Regions from separate parts of the Homo sapiens genome. Here regions 2 and 3 are each linked to region 1. The links are contacts of gene promoters, found by promoter capture Hi-C in blood cells and fetal thymus (Javierre and others, 2016). All regions are on one chromosome and are shown on one strand. The core of a region is centred on a gene start or on the middle of the fragment in contact, and the rest is flanking DNA. Distances in the headings are between cores, read along the strand shown. Region 1 holds the start of ALG14 (ALG14 UDP-N-acetylglucosaminyltransferase subunit). Region 2 holds the start of SASS6 (SAS-6 centriolar assembly protein). Region 3 holds the start of SLC30A7 (solute carrier family 30 member 7).

The links. Contacts are between HindIII fragments. The CHiCAGO score rates a contact against its expected background, and 5 or more counts as called.
Region 2: a contact is called between the fragment with the promoter of SASS6 here and the fragment with the promoter of ALG14 in region 1, in 4 of 17 cell types (non-activated CD4 T cells, naive CD4 T cells, total CD8 T cells and 1 more). The highest score is 15.9, in non-activated CD4 T cells.
Region 3: the fragment with the promoter of SLC30A7 here is called in contact with the fragment with the promoter of ALG14 in region 1 in 1 of 17 cell types (naive CD8 T cells); the score reaches 5.0 in naive CD8 T cells.

The regions. Positions count from the first base shown.
Region 1 is chr1:95,070,681-95,075,227 of GRCh38, forward strand. ALG14 (ALG14 UDP-N-acetylglucosaminyltransferase subunit) reads right to left here and starts at 2,271. Exons shown (of 4, transcript NM_144988.4): 1 at 2,083-2,271. The coding sequence starts at 2,218. RefSeq lists enhancers at 1,713-1,792, 2,033-2,392. The HindIII fragment of the contact is 2,572 bases long and covers 38-2,609 here.
Region 2 is chr1:100,129,651-100,134,274 of GRCh38, forward strand. SASS6 (SAS-6 centriolar assembly protein) reads right to left here and starts at 3,280. Exons shown (of 17, transcript NM_194292.3): 1 at 3,100-3,280. The coding sequence starts at 3,164. TRMT13 (tRNA methyltransferase 13) reads left to right here and starts at 3,513. Exons shown (of 11, transcript NM_019083.3): 1 at 3,513-3,665. The coding sequence starts at 3,519. RefSeq lists enhancers at 1,238-1,287, 3,061-3,663, 3,068-3,187, 3,198-3,727 and a silencer at 2,902-3,065. The HindIII fragment of the contact is 1,832 bases long and covers 1,628-3,459 here.
Region 3 is chr1:100,894,391-100,898,657 of GRCh38, forward strand. It overlaps SLC30A7 (solute carrier family 30 member 7), which reads left to right and starts at 1,700. Exons shown (of 11, transcript NM_133496.5): 1 at 1,700-1,952; 2 at 2,180-2,281. The coding sequence starts at 1,873. EXTL2 (exostosin like glycosyltransferase 2) reads right to left here and starts at 452. Exons shown (of 5, transcript NM_001033025.3): 1 at 243-452. RefSeq lists enhancers at 1-507, 508-1,230, 1,125-1,194, 1,745-1,994, 2,045-2,204. The HindIII fragment of the contact is 2,158 bases long and covers 952-3,109 here.

The sequences.
Region 1 (4,547 bases), core at 1,021-3,520:
GTCAAGCACTTTACTGAACACTTTATTTTTTAATTTAAGCTTTTGATTATATCATTTTATTTTATTTCATTTTGAGACAGGGTCTCACTCTGTCAACCAGGCTGGAGTGCAGTGGCACAATCTCAGCTCACTGCAACCTCCACCTCCCAGACTCAAGTGATCCTCCTACCTCAGCCTCCCAAATAGCTGGGACTATAGGTGCATGCCACCACATCCACCTAATTTATTTATTTATTTTAATGTAGAGACAGGGTTTCACTATGTTGCCCAGGCTGGTCTCCAACTCCTAAGCTCAAGCAATCCGCCTGTATCGGCCTCCCAAATTGCTGAGATTACAGGTGTGAACCATCACGCCCGGCCTAAACACTTTAAATATGATCCTATTTAATCTCTCCTGTCCTCTCTCAACCCATGTAGAAACAGAAGGTTCAGCGAGGTTAACTAATTGCCTGAGATCCCCAAGGTAGTAAGTGGCAGAAATGTGATTCATGTGTGGTGTTATGACAACCTAGAGGCCTGTGGTCTTAACCCCTACATGATATCAACAGTGGAGTAGCAGCAATTGCTTTATAAAGCAGGATTTTAGGCCAGGGGTGGCTCACGTCTGCAACCCCAGCACTTTGGGATGCTGAGGCAGGAGGATCACTTGAGGTCGGAAGTTCAAGACCAGCCTTGGTCAACATGGTGAAACACTGTCTGTACTAAAAATACAAAAATTAGCTGAGTGTGGTGGTGCGCCTGTAATCCCAGCTACTCGGGAGGCTGAGGCAGGAGAATGGCTTGAATTTGGGAGGTGGAGTTGCAGTGAGCTGAGACTGCGCCACTGCCCTCCAGCCTGGGCAACAGCGTGAGACTCTGTATAAAAAAGAAAAAAAGCAAGATTTTAAATACTCTTTACAATCTGGACTCAGTTTACCTCCCTACATTGAACTCTACACGATAGTGTTCTCTCAACTCTGGTCATTCCAAGTGTTATCACCTTCTTTTCACATCCTCCCAGCCCTCGAAACCCTGGCTGTCCCTCATCTGACTAATTCTGGGTCATCTTTCAAGTTTCAGTTTAGCATCATTTCTTCCAGGAAGCTGTCTGTTTTTTAAGACCTGATAAAGTAGTGCCCTTCCTGAAGACTGCCATAGCAATTTGTACTTCTTACACAATTATTACAAGATTATAGCATTTATCTCATTGTGGCAAATACTCATTTTGATTTATTTTCTGTTAGTTTTTTTGTATTCTCTATTTCATTTACTGCTGTATCTTTGCATCTCTCACAGGACTTAGCACGGAGTCAGCACTCCGTGGCAAGTAATGTTAGTCAGTTTTGTTATTTCCAGAGGTTAGTTTAGTGTTTGGTCTTTCTAACAGCTCAAAACAGATTAAGTGAATAAAGTAATGCGTTATACTTGAACATAAACTTAGTACATTTACTCATACTATACATGTTCTATCTGGATGCAATCTCCTGCCATACCCAAATGTTTACATTGTGTCTGTGTGTGTCTGTCTGTCCCTGTCAAATATGTGTATTTAAAATTGTAAGCACCTACAGAGTTGGTGGATTTAGATTGTATTACCTGACAGGTCAGTGTGTTGCTCACACTCTGCCACCGCGTGTGTATTGTTCTACAGCCCGTAGATCATTGTTTTTATCCTCTTGGACTTTGTATATTTATAAATGTGACAATTCATTTTGCCTCATTTGTCATGTAGCATTCGTGTTTCCTAAACTAAATACGCAATACCTAGATTAATAATGCACAACAGCCATACGGGGAAACTGCATGTTTGCATCAAAAGGCTTCTACGTTCTCTGTTCACTAATTGTTTGAAAAATATACGCTACAGAGAGTCTTAATTATAGACAAGTGTAAATTACTTGTCATAAAAAAAACCTCTGGGCCGCGTCAGCAAACCAGCCCCTACCCTGGCTGGACTGCCCGGTTCCGGCAAGGCAGAGAAACTACAAATCTCTGCATGCAACACTCCAAGAAGTGCTAAGGGTACCAGGGAAGAGCGTCGCGGTGCACTCTGGGGTTTGTAGTGACCAACCCAAGTCCGACAGTCGCCTCCTCGATACTTACCGGACCCAGCCACTACCAAGATACTGAGAGACTCCCGGGGCGTAACGTCCATGGAACGAAGCACTACCCATATTCGCAGGATTAGGAAAACCGCCACAGCTCCTGCGGCCGCAGCTAGAACGAGAACGCACACCATGCAGAGAAACGGCGCATGCGTCCAACTTCCGGGGACCAGCCGCTGTCAAAGTTCACAACTACGGGTGCCGAAGCGACTCAAACGCGGAGGACGCACGTCTTGGTGGGCTGGTCTTTCCTGAGCTGGGAGGAGTGGAGGCGACGGAGAAGCTGAGGTCCCAGTCACAATCCATTTTACCTCATTTATCATGTAGTATTCGTGTTTCCTAAACTAAATACGCAATACCTAGATTAATAATGCACAACAGCCATACAGGGAAACTGCATATTAGCGTTAAAAGGTTTCTACGTTCTGTACGTTCACGTTTGTCAGCGGAACCCCTGCTTCTGCGCGGATTGTGCGCAGCTGCAGCCAAGCGTAAGCTGAAAATTGTAAAGTTAAGCGCTGGGGAAGCTTGATTTACGCCCACGACGAGGTCAGGCAGTCTCTGCGCCCTAAAGGTCCCGAAACTCCCCAGTTAGGAGGTGTTCTGGCTCTGTCAACTTCGTGAATGCCACCTGAAGCTAAGGGAATACATCCTTTCTTTCTTTCTTTTTTTTTTTTTAATGCCAAGAGAAATGTTTCTGTTGCACACAGACATTACTGAAAGTGTTCGCCAGTAAGGACCCTAGGCTTAAACATCGAATTTAGGGCCCTCATCCAAACCCCCTGTCTCCCAACATGTATGTTTTTAACTTTTCTCGAGGTTTTCACAGCTCTCAGTGTGACCAGAGTAGTTGAGGGTGACCACCTAAAGGTAAGCCACACTCCTAAGAGGATTGCAAAGCTCAGTGGCTCTAGGTAGCAGGATAGACAAGGCACAGTCCTACAATTAATATTCAGTTAATTTTATCACAAAGCATTTCCAGTGTGTTTCTCATGTCCTCAGCCAAAATGATGATCTGCCAACACCCCCTTCAATCTCAATTTTGCTTATGTCTAATTAATTAATTGTTAATAAATTAATTATGTCTAATTAATCCACATTACGACAACATAAAATACTAAGATCAGGAGCCCCTTCACCCCAAATATAATTTGCCTTCGGTCCACCATAGACCTACCTGTAGGTTATATTGAACAGGTATACAGATGAGTAAAAAGGTTCAGAAAGGTGCAACTGCTTGCCCAAGTGGAATAGCGTCAGATCTAGAATCAGAAACCAGAAATCTGAGTCCTGCTGGACAGGAGTACTGCATCCTGTATTCCTTTGCTAAATTCAAACTTGCCTGATCACCACACTTACCTGGAGCCTAGAATGTGTTATTAAAGGTGCAGACTCCCAGGGTCCATTAGGAAACACTGAATCAGAATTTCCGGGGATCGGGCACCTGGGATTAGCTTATGTAACCAGCGTGTCCATTCCTATCAGCAAGCAAGTTTGGGAGACTTTGTGAGTAGAGTCCGTGGACCTTACAACACTTTCCAAATTGTCTTCCATCAAATCTTCTTTCTTTTCTTTTCTTTTCTTTTTTTTTTTTTTTGAGACAGAGTCTCACTCTGTCGCTTGGCTGGAGTGCAGTGGCACAATCTTGGCTCACTGCAACCCCCACCTCCCAGGTTCAAGCGATTCTCCTGCCTCAGCCTCCCAAGTAGCTGGGACTACAGGCATGCACCACCATGCCTGGCTATTTTTTTTTTTTTTTTTTTTAGTAGAGACAGAGTTTCACCATGTTGGCCAGGCTGGTCTCGAACTCCTAACCTCAGGTGATCTGCCCGCCTCTACCTCCCAAAGTGCTGGGATTACAGGCATGAGCCACTGCGCCCGGCTCCATCAAATCTTCTTAACTATACATTCTCGCAGTAAGACCTTAAAGTGGATATTAGTTCCCTTTTTACAGACAAAGAAGTAGATTCCATAAAAGTTAAATAATTTGCCTAAGTCTACTTAGCTAGTAAGGGTGGAGAAAGTTCATAGTTGTGGACTTAGAAGTCAGTGTCTCTCAAATTTTAATGGAATCAGAATTCTCTGGGCTTACAAATGCGTAGTTGGAAGTCCAGAGGTAGGGTCTTTGGTGTAGTAAGAAAAACAGCTCAAGGATAATACAAGGAGTATCATTTACTTGTATATGCCCACTCTGCCATTCCTAATAATGTCTTCAACCTGAAACAGTCTTACCTGATACTTAAGACACTAGTGGTCCCAGAATGGGATGTGTGGATGGTTACATCCAACAGGGCAATCTCCATAGCCAAAAAAGAGGTTATCTTGTCGGGTCTTTTTTGCCCCTCCCCCCCAGTCTTGCTCTGTGGCACGGTCTCGGCTCACTGCAACCTCCACCTCTGGGATTCAAGCAATTCGCCTGGCTTAGCCTCCCAAGTAACTGGGACTACAGGTATGCGCCACCAC
Region 2 (4,624 bases), core at 2,030-4,529, 5.1 Mb after region 1:
TACCTGAAAGTTATGAAAGAAAAAAGCATTTGAGGCACAAGGAACAGCAGGGGTAATAGTATAGAATGAGTATCAGGTATATTCAGAAGGTAACAAGAATGCTTGTATGACTTTCATATTGGAGAGATAAGCTTAGGAAACAAAACTGAAAAGGCAGATTAGTGTCAAATCATGGGTTCCAAAATTTTGCATAATTTTCCACCAGATGAAGTTCCCTGATCATTACCACTGTCCTCAACTGAATTTCCTTCTTCTCTGACTTTAGTGTACTTATATTACTTTATGCATTTGTCACACATTAATACCTAAAATTTAGTGAACATTTATTATGCTCTAGTCACTGTTGTAAGCAGTTCATATGTATAATTCATTCCATTCTCATAATACCATGAAGTAGGTACTGTTATTACCATCAACTTAAAGATGAGACACAGAGAAGGAAATTGTACAAGATCTGTCAGTAAGTGGAAGAACTGGGACTTAAACCCAGGCAATCTGGCTCCAGAGCCTGAACTCCTAATCTGTGCTATGGTGCCTGTTCAAGGAAAATCTTATTTCCCCTATTAAAATGTGAGTTCCTTGAGGGACAGAATGAAAAGAGGTTTTTGTTGGCTTTTGTTGTTGTTGGGGACGGAGAGGGGGGTGCGTATTTACATCCTCCACACTTAGGACAGTTCCTGAGACACAGCAGACATTTGCCAGTATTTGTTGAGCTGAACTGGCCTCAAATACTCAACCAAGGCGTCTGGGCTGGGCGTGGTGGCTCACGCCTATAATCCCCGAATTTTGGGAGGCTGGGGTGAGAGGATCACTTGAGCCCAGGTGTTCAAGACCAGCCTGGGCAATACAGGGAGACCCCGTCTCTTTTAAATTAAATTAACAACAAAAAAAAGCCAGGCGTGGTGGTATGCGCCTGTAATTGCAGCTACTCAGGAGGCTAAGGTGAGGGGAACCCTTGGGCCCAGGAGGTCAAGGCTGCAGTGAGCTGTAATCGTGCTACAATACTCCAGTCTGGGCAACAGAGCGAGACTCTGTCTAGAAAAAAAAAAAAAAAGAGAGAGAGAAAGAGAGAGAGTCTGGGTTGTTCTTCCTATAGGTCAAGGATCACCAAATTATTCTGTAAAGGGCCAGATAGCAAATATTTTAGGCTTTGCGGGCCATAAGGTCTCTGTCACAATTACTCATCTCTGCCCTTCCTGTGCAAAAGCAGCTACAATATGTAAACAAATGAGCATGGCTGTATTCCAAGAAAAGTTTATTTACGAAAACAGTGAGCCAACTGGCCCATGTGCTCCAGTTTGCTGACCCCTATTATACAGATAATAGGAATATATTAAAGGTTTCTAAGCAGAGAAATTGAGTTTTTAGATTAACTGTGATGGCAATGTAACCAGAAAGAGACCATCTAGGAGTTTCCATATTGAAACCAAAGTCATGGCCTCCTTTATCTTTCTATAATCATTCTAAAACAGTGTTGTCCAATGGAGATACAATGTAAGCCACAAATGTGAGCCAGGTATGTAATTTTAATTTTTTTCTTTTTCTTTTTTTTTTTTCAGAGACAGGATCTCGCTCTATCACCCAGGCTGGAGTACAGTGGCACAAATAGTAGCTCACTGTAACCTCAAGCTTAGGCTCAAGCAATCCTCCTGTCTTGGCCTCCTAAAGTGCTGGGACTACGGGTGTGAGCCACCATACCTAGCCTACTTTTAAATTTTCTAGAAGTCACATTTTAAAAAGACTTTTAAAAGCAGGTGAAATTAATTTTAATAATACATTGTATTTAACCCAATATACCCAAAAATATTGCCATTTAACACATAATATAAAAATTGACATATTTTACATTCTTTTTTCATAGTAAGTCTTAAAAATCCAACGTGCATTTTCATATGTAAAGCACAACAATTCAGATAAGCCCCATTTCAAATGTCTAATAACCACATGTGGCTAGTGGCTACCATACTGGACAGCATTAAAAGAATGATCAACTAAACCTACAGATCTCCATATGCAGCTGCTGGTTTTGGGACCATCTCCTTGACCGGCTTGCCATTGATTTTTGACCGAATTCTGAACTATATATACTACAGTTTGACATTACTGGCAACTCAATAAGGCAATGTCTTCATTTTTTATGTTACATTTGTACACCACTTAGTTTTCACATACGATTTCACACCTGATCCTCATTACAAACACGTGAATACGCAAAAGATTTCACACCTGATCCTCATTACAAACACGTGAATACGCATGTTATATCAGTTTTACAAATGAGGAAAGAACGTTCAGAGAAAAAAAGAGACAACCATTGAGTGTTAGAACTGAGAAAAAAAAAGTAAGTCTCCTGACCTCTGGTCAAATCTATTTACGCCCCAATAATACCACCTCCTTAATCAAAGTTGCACTTCTCTGTGCGACTGGTCTTTATTTCCTCCAGTGATTGTAAACTCCATGAAGAAAAGGACTGTTTTTCCTGACCACTGTATTCCCAGTGCCCAGTAAGGTGTTTTACAAGGAGGCAATATTTATTGAATGAATTAATGACGTTTCTGCTTTTCTCATTTTTAGTCGGTTAAATGTAATTTACTTTTTTAAAGCAACTGATGTGAAGAGCCAAAGTACGCCACCAAATTGGTAGGTTTTTAAAAGTTGAACTTTACTGCCAACATACTTCAAAAGAGAACGAGGGGGAAAGGCTCGGAGCCAAGGCCTGAGTTCTAGTCCTGACCCTGCCATGAACTGGCTGTGAGCCCTCACGTAAATTTTTTTAACTTCTCTGGGCCAGAGTTCTTATCTGTCAAAAGGGAAGAGTAGGGCTATAATCTTCACGATTCCGTGCACAGGTAGGGTTTTTGACATTAACTTGATGTGAGCCGGCTTCCTAACTCCTCACACCCTTCCTCCAGTCCCCTCTGCAACGGCCGACTTGGTGAGAGAGGTAACCACCGGGCCCTCTGGGTTCCCTATCCGCTTCCTAGGGGGGCCGACTCGACACCTAGGTGCAAGGTGGATCCCACGGGCCAGAACCGCCATCTTTCCCCATTGGCCTGACCCCAACCGCCACCCGCGGGCACTGGATGACGCGGACCTTACCTCTCCTCACAGTCTTTGCATTTCACCTGCAACGGGACTAGTTGGTGGAACAGCACTTGGCTCATGTTGGCTCGCTGCCTCGGCTGGTGTGCAGAAAAGCCCAACAGGCCCGGCCCTCGGGATTAGCCTGAGAGGTCCGGGTCCTGATAAAGTTTGAGTTTGGCGCTCGGCTTCTGCGGAGGAGGCGGGGAGGGAGAAACGAGGGGAAGGCGTAAGAGACTTGGCCCTCGCCAGCCACCATCGGATTCTTCCGGTTCTGCGGAGGATAAAGGGAAGACGGTTGTGGTAGTTCCGGGTATTAACCTGTGTGGCGCGGGGGCTGAGGCAGCCATGTTTGTTAAGGGAAGGAGACCCGAAGGAAGCTTCTAACTTTTCTTCTGGTTGCCGGATGCTGGACACCGGAAGCGAGCCCTAGAATTATGGCGACCTCCGCGACGTCGCCGCACGCGCCTGGTTTTCCAGCTGAGGGTAGATGCGGTTACTATGTGGAAAAGAAGAAACGGTTCTGCAGGATGGTGGTGGCCGCAGGGAAAAGATTTTGTGGTGAACACGCTGGAGCCGCGGAGGTGTGGTATCGCCCTACTCTCTCAAGAGTCGGAAATAAGTATCCTGGTCCTGTCGGTGCTGGAACCCGGCCCCTCCCCTCTTTGACAGCTTTCTGCTTGTGTCCCCTGGATTCTCCAGCTTTCACTTTAATAAACCCAGTTTTGCCCTCCTTGCGGAGCGATTATGAGTTCTAGTGATGAGAAATTTTTTATTTTTCTAAGTAAAGCGCCAGCAGTGACCCATTTATTTTGATCTATTTATCTCGATCTTAACTCATGGTAATGCTAGGTTTTAATTTTTACCCCAAGCTACCGCTCCGTCTTCCTGCTGGAAAGTGGTAGTTTAGAAAAAGTAGTGATTGAAGTCCCAAAGGTTTCACTAGTTGTGTTCTAATTGTTATTTCATGAAAGAGAAGCACTTCTCGTGAATGCGGTTGGAAGAAACTTTCTTTTAAAAATTTAGACTTGAGGCCCGGCGCGGTGGCTCACGCCTGTAATCCCAGCACTTTGGGAGGCCGAGGCGGGCGGATCACTTGAGGTCAGGAGCTCGAGACCAGCCTGGCCAACATGATGAAACCCTCTCTCTACTAAAAATAAGAAAATCAGCCGTGGCGCGAGCTACTAAAATTAAGAAAATCGTGGTGGTGCGAGCCTGTAACCCCAGCTACTCGGGAGGCTGAGGCAGGAGAATCGCTTGAACCCAGGAGGTGGAGGTGGCAATAATCCAAGATCACACCACTGCATTCCAGCCTGGGTGACAGCCAGACTGAATCTCAAAAAAGAAAAAAAAATTTTTTTCGACTTACAGTTTTTAAGAATGCAACTTTGCTGGAATGGGAAGGAAAGATTTTTAAATATATACGAATTGACCTTTTACAATTGAGAACAAAGCATACAATTTTGTTTGATAATTATGCATATAAATGTACTATCAAACACTTTATATTTGTATATATGTATATTACTTTAGGATATATATG
Region 3 (4,267 bases), core at 450-2,949, 5.8 Mb after region 1:
GCTAACAAAGGCAAATACAAAATACTCTTCCCAGAACTTACTTCTGAAACCTAGCTGTTTTTACACAGCAGTTTTAATTAACATTTTTCAAAATTGTAGAATAAGTACATATTTTCAAAAATAAAACCACCGAATACTCCATACACACACACAAAGTTCTCAGAACGAGAGCAAAACATGCATATATCCTCACTACAAAAAGAAAAATACTAATACTGGAGCATTTTGCTGTGTCTCCTTACCTCGAGTGCAGTAGATTGCAGTAGGGCCAGCCGATTTATTTCCCTGCAGCTTAGTTATCATAAAACGGAAGGGGCGTCTCGTTTGCTCATTTTTGTTTTTTTTTCTAAACCAAGTAGCGTGCATCTATCCTTCTCCATTAGCTGGATTAACAACCTGGAAAAAGTGCCGCCCGCAAAGTGAGCGCCTGGAGCAAGGGACAGTCCCCGAGTGGCCGCCCCTCCCTTTCGGTGACGCTCCACTTCCTGTCGGCCTAAAAGGCATTCCCAGGAAGCTCGGTTTTGTAGTTTCCAGCCCACCTCCGAAAGCCAATCCTTTCCTCCATTTCTTCTCCAAGGTAACAACTTTTAAACATTCACGTGACGGACCACCTTCCCTCAGCCAAACAACTTCCCTGAAAGGCGCCCGAAGGAGCCTTCCCATCCACCGCGGGTGCCCAGGAAAGGCCTGTGGGGCTCTCCTCCCCGCGCTCCACACGCCCTCGCATCCCACCGAGGGGCCAGCTTCTGCCTGCACGTTGCTGAAACTGGCCTGGAGGTTCTGACAAGAATTAGAGCGGCGGCCGTTGCCCCGGGGATGACCTGGAAGCGAAAGAGACCGGCACGAATTCTAGAGTTTCGGGGTTTCCGCGGGTTGAGATTGTACGGGAAACAATGCATTAACCAAACCTAAAAATCAAACAAACACGTCTGGTAGAACCTACCATTAAAAAGCTTCTTTCCTATACTACGTTTAACAGCCTTTATTTTGAAAGACATTGATTGATGCCAGGCATGGTGGCGCACGCCTGAGGTCTCAGCTACTCCGGAGGCTGAGGAGGATCACTTGCGTCCGGGAGTTCCAGGCTGTAGTGAGCCTCATTGTGCTCCAGCCTAGGTGACAGGGCGAGACCTTGTCTCTTAAAAAAATAAAGAAAGAAAAACATTGATCGCCTCCTGCGTGGCAGTCCAGAAGGGTCAAGCGCTGTTTTCGGGGTGGCGTGGAATGGATTCCTAAGATTTGGGCGCCCATAGAGTTAACGCAGCAAAACGATCACTTGCGTTTCCTGCGGACTGGCGGCAATAGAACACGTGGCTGCCTAGACTCTTAATCACTGATATCTACCACACCAGGATTTAATGCCAGTTGGGAGGAAATGGCGAAAGGGCAGGCGCTGGAGCCCATGCATCCGGGAACACTGGTGGTAGGCGGTCGGGTGGGCGTGAGCGGGCTCTCCATCTCCCAGCCCAGTCTGCAGGTCGCCACCTCAGGATTTTCTTCCTGAGTCCGGGTGGCAGGATTCCATCCCAGGTCAGCCCCTCACACCCCCTGGTAGTTGCCACCTCCTGGCGTCCCTCCAACAGCTCCAGCACCTTTCTCATCCCGCCCCCGCCGCAAGCCACGCCCTCCGCCGCGCAGGCCCCGCCCGCGACCGGCCTCCCTCCTTTCCTGTCCCAGGACGCGTTGCGCGGCCCGGGCCGGAAGTAAGCGAATTCCCGGGTGTGTGTCTGTGTCTGTCTGTGTCTCGCAGCGGCGCGCGGCCCCGGACAAGCGCTGGGGATTCCCGTTTGAGGCGTCACTACTGTCACTGCCATCACCCCACGGAGCCACTTCTAGAGGGGAGTAGACCCGGCCCTTCGCCGGGCAGAGAAGATGTTGCCCCTGTCCATCAAAGACGATGAATACAAACCACCCAAGTTCAATTTGTTCGGCAAGATCTCGGGCTGGTTTAGGTGCGGGGTGCTGTGTTTGCGGGGAGGGGGTGTCCGGCAGAAAGGGAGAAGGCCCAGACCTCAGGATGGCCCGAGGTCCAGTGAGGGAGAGTCAAAAACTCCCCGTCAACCCCTAGCTGTGAAGAAAGGAGCATGTGAACTGGGAGGGTCTTGAAGAGGGTACCCAGCCTCGGGGTCCCGGCACCTCCTTAACTCTCCCGGCTCTTTTCCACGTGTATCATTCCCAGGTCTATACTGTCCGACAAGACTTCCCGGAACCTGTTTTTCTTCCTGTGCCTGAACCTCTCTTTCGCTTTTGTGGAACTACTCTACGGCATCTGGAGCAACTGGTAACCAAAGGGGAAAATGGTTTGGGCGGAAGCTGGGTGTGAGGGAGACGAAGCACTGTTTGCTTAATGCCACGTAGCTCCTCACTAGGAGGTTCAGGTCCTACCTTTGTTACCTACCTCTGCTGCTGAGTTGCTTTCTCATACCCACACCAATCTGGTAGGGCTACAGTTCTTGAGTAAGATCTGGGCCTATCCTGTGCAACCTCTCTTGTCACGCTCCCCTCCAGTTCCATCAGACAAGACTGACAAGCCCCTCCTTATTTTAGCAGATGGGCAGAATCTTTCATTTCTAATTGTAGGCCTTAGGTTTACCCACTTTGTTGGAATTGGGAGAAACTTGTTTGCTGCCTCTCTCGGGGGGGAGTGGCATTTGGATTTCACCCTTAAGATTCTGAGAGAGTATATCTGAGATGTTCTACTTAGTTTGTTATTGGGGCTTGGAATGGGAGGTTTTATAAAGTGATATCGGGAGGAATATGTGTCATTCTCTTCTCTCTTTAATGCCGAAACTGTCTCATGATTTTCCTGTAGTCTTAACTGCGATGTAAAAATCCCATATAGTTTCTAGAAACAACATTTCTTGGGTTTTGGTGGCACCTTTGAGGGTTTTTGTTTTTTTTGAAACATCCTTAGGAGGAGGAAAATCTAGTGTGTAACTCTGTGGCAGTGAAGTTACTATTATTCAGGTATTTGCTGTTGAGTAACTTAAGGTCTTATGAAGTTGTTCTGCTAACAAGACTGTCACACTCCTAGGTGTACTAATTCTGTCTTTAGATCCCATACTCCTTCAAAAATCTGATGAAAGCCAATACTCAGAATTGTACATAAAGCTTCAGGATGTTGTTGGGTTCCCTGTACTAAATCTTGGACTCTAGATTAAGAACCTGTTTTCTATTTATTAAATAGACTTAGTCTCTGTTGTTTAAGACCCATTTTCAGAGAAAATCGCTGTCCTTGATCTTCTGTTGAGATCAAACATTGACAGGTAATATCACCAGGTTTTGTGACATGTATACTTTTATATAATGCTTGGGCTTCTTTCAATTCAACCGTCAATTCAGTTCTATAAAAAATACTCAATAACCAGCAGATTATGAAGGTTATTGGTTTAGTCAACAGTTGGGTATAAAGGCATATTGGCACAATGAAATCTTAATATATGTAATAACCATTTTGAATCCTTTGGGAATCAGATGTGTTAATTTGAAGGATACCCCATCATAGATTAATTTTTTAATCCCATAGTATTAACACACTTTAATATACTGTAGATGTTGAAAGCACTTGTACTTGAATAATCATACTTTATCATAAATATATAATATTTACAGTATATTTTACATTTTTCTCTTCCTAAATTATGCCAAATTAATTTTGGGATATGTGCTGATTGTATCAGGAGTGTATCATAGCTTATATATGCATATTTTGTATCAAGAGTGTATCATAGCTTGTATATGCATATTTTGTATCAAGAGTGTATCATAGCTTATATATGCATATTTTGCTACAGATAGTTTCTATTGCAGTGTTTCACTATGGCTTTCCATTACATAAGTCACTCTGTGAAATATCTCATTCAAGAGATTCACACTTGAAGTTCCTAAACCACCTTTCATGGAAAGTTAAGTATATAGTAACTCTTTTGATCTGTAGAGATCTGTTGGGGAGATTACCAGAACCATTATTTTTTAAGTCAGTATGCATCAGTGCATAACAAAAACATTAGTTGTAGTCGACTTGTTCTTTTACCCTTAGGGGACTTGCTTTTCTTTACTAGTGCAGCTTATATACTGTTTTTCATTGTGTTATGTCTTCTAGCTAGATTTGAAATCTAGCTCCAGTGCATGTTGTACTTAGTTCATTTAGCACGTATCCGTCATCTCATGCCTATTTATGTTAATCTCCAGATCTACAACCAATTATTCTTAAATATTAATTTTTAATACAGATCTCTTGTCATTGATATTTGGGCAGATTTAGGCA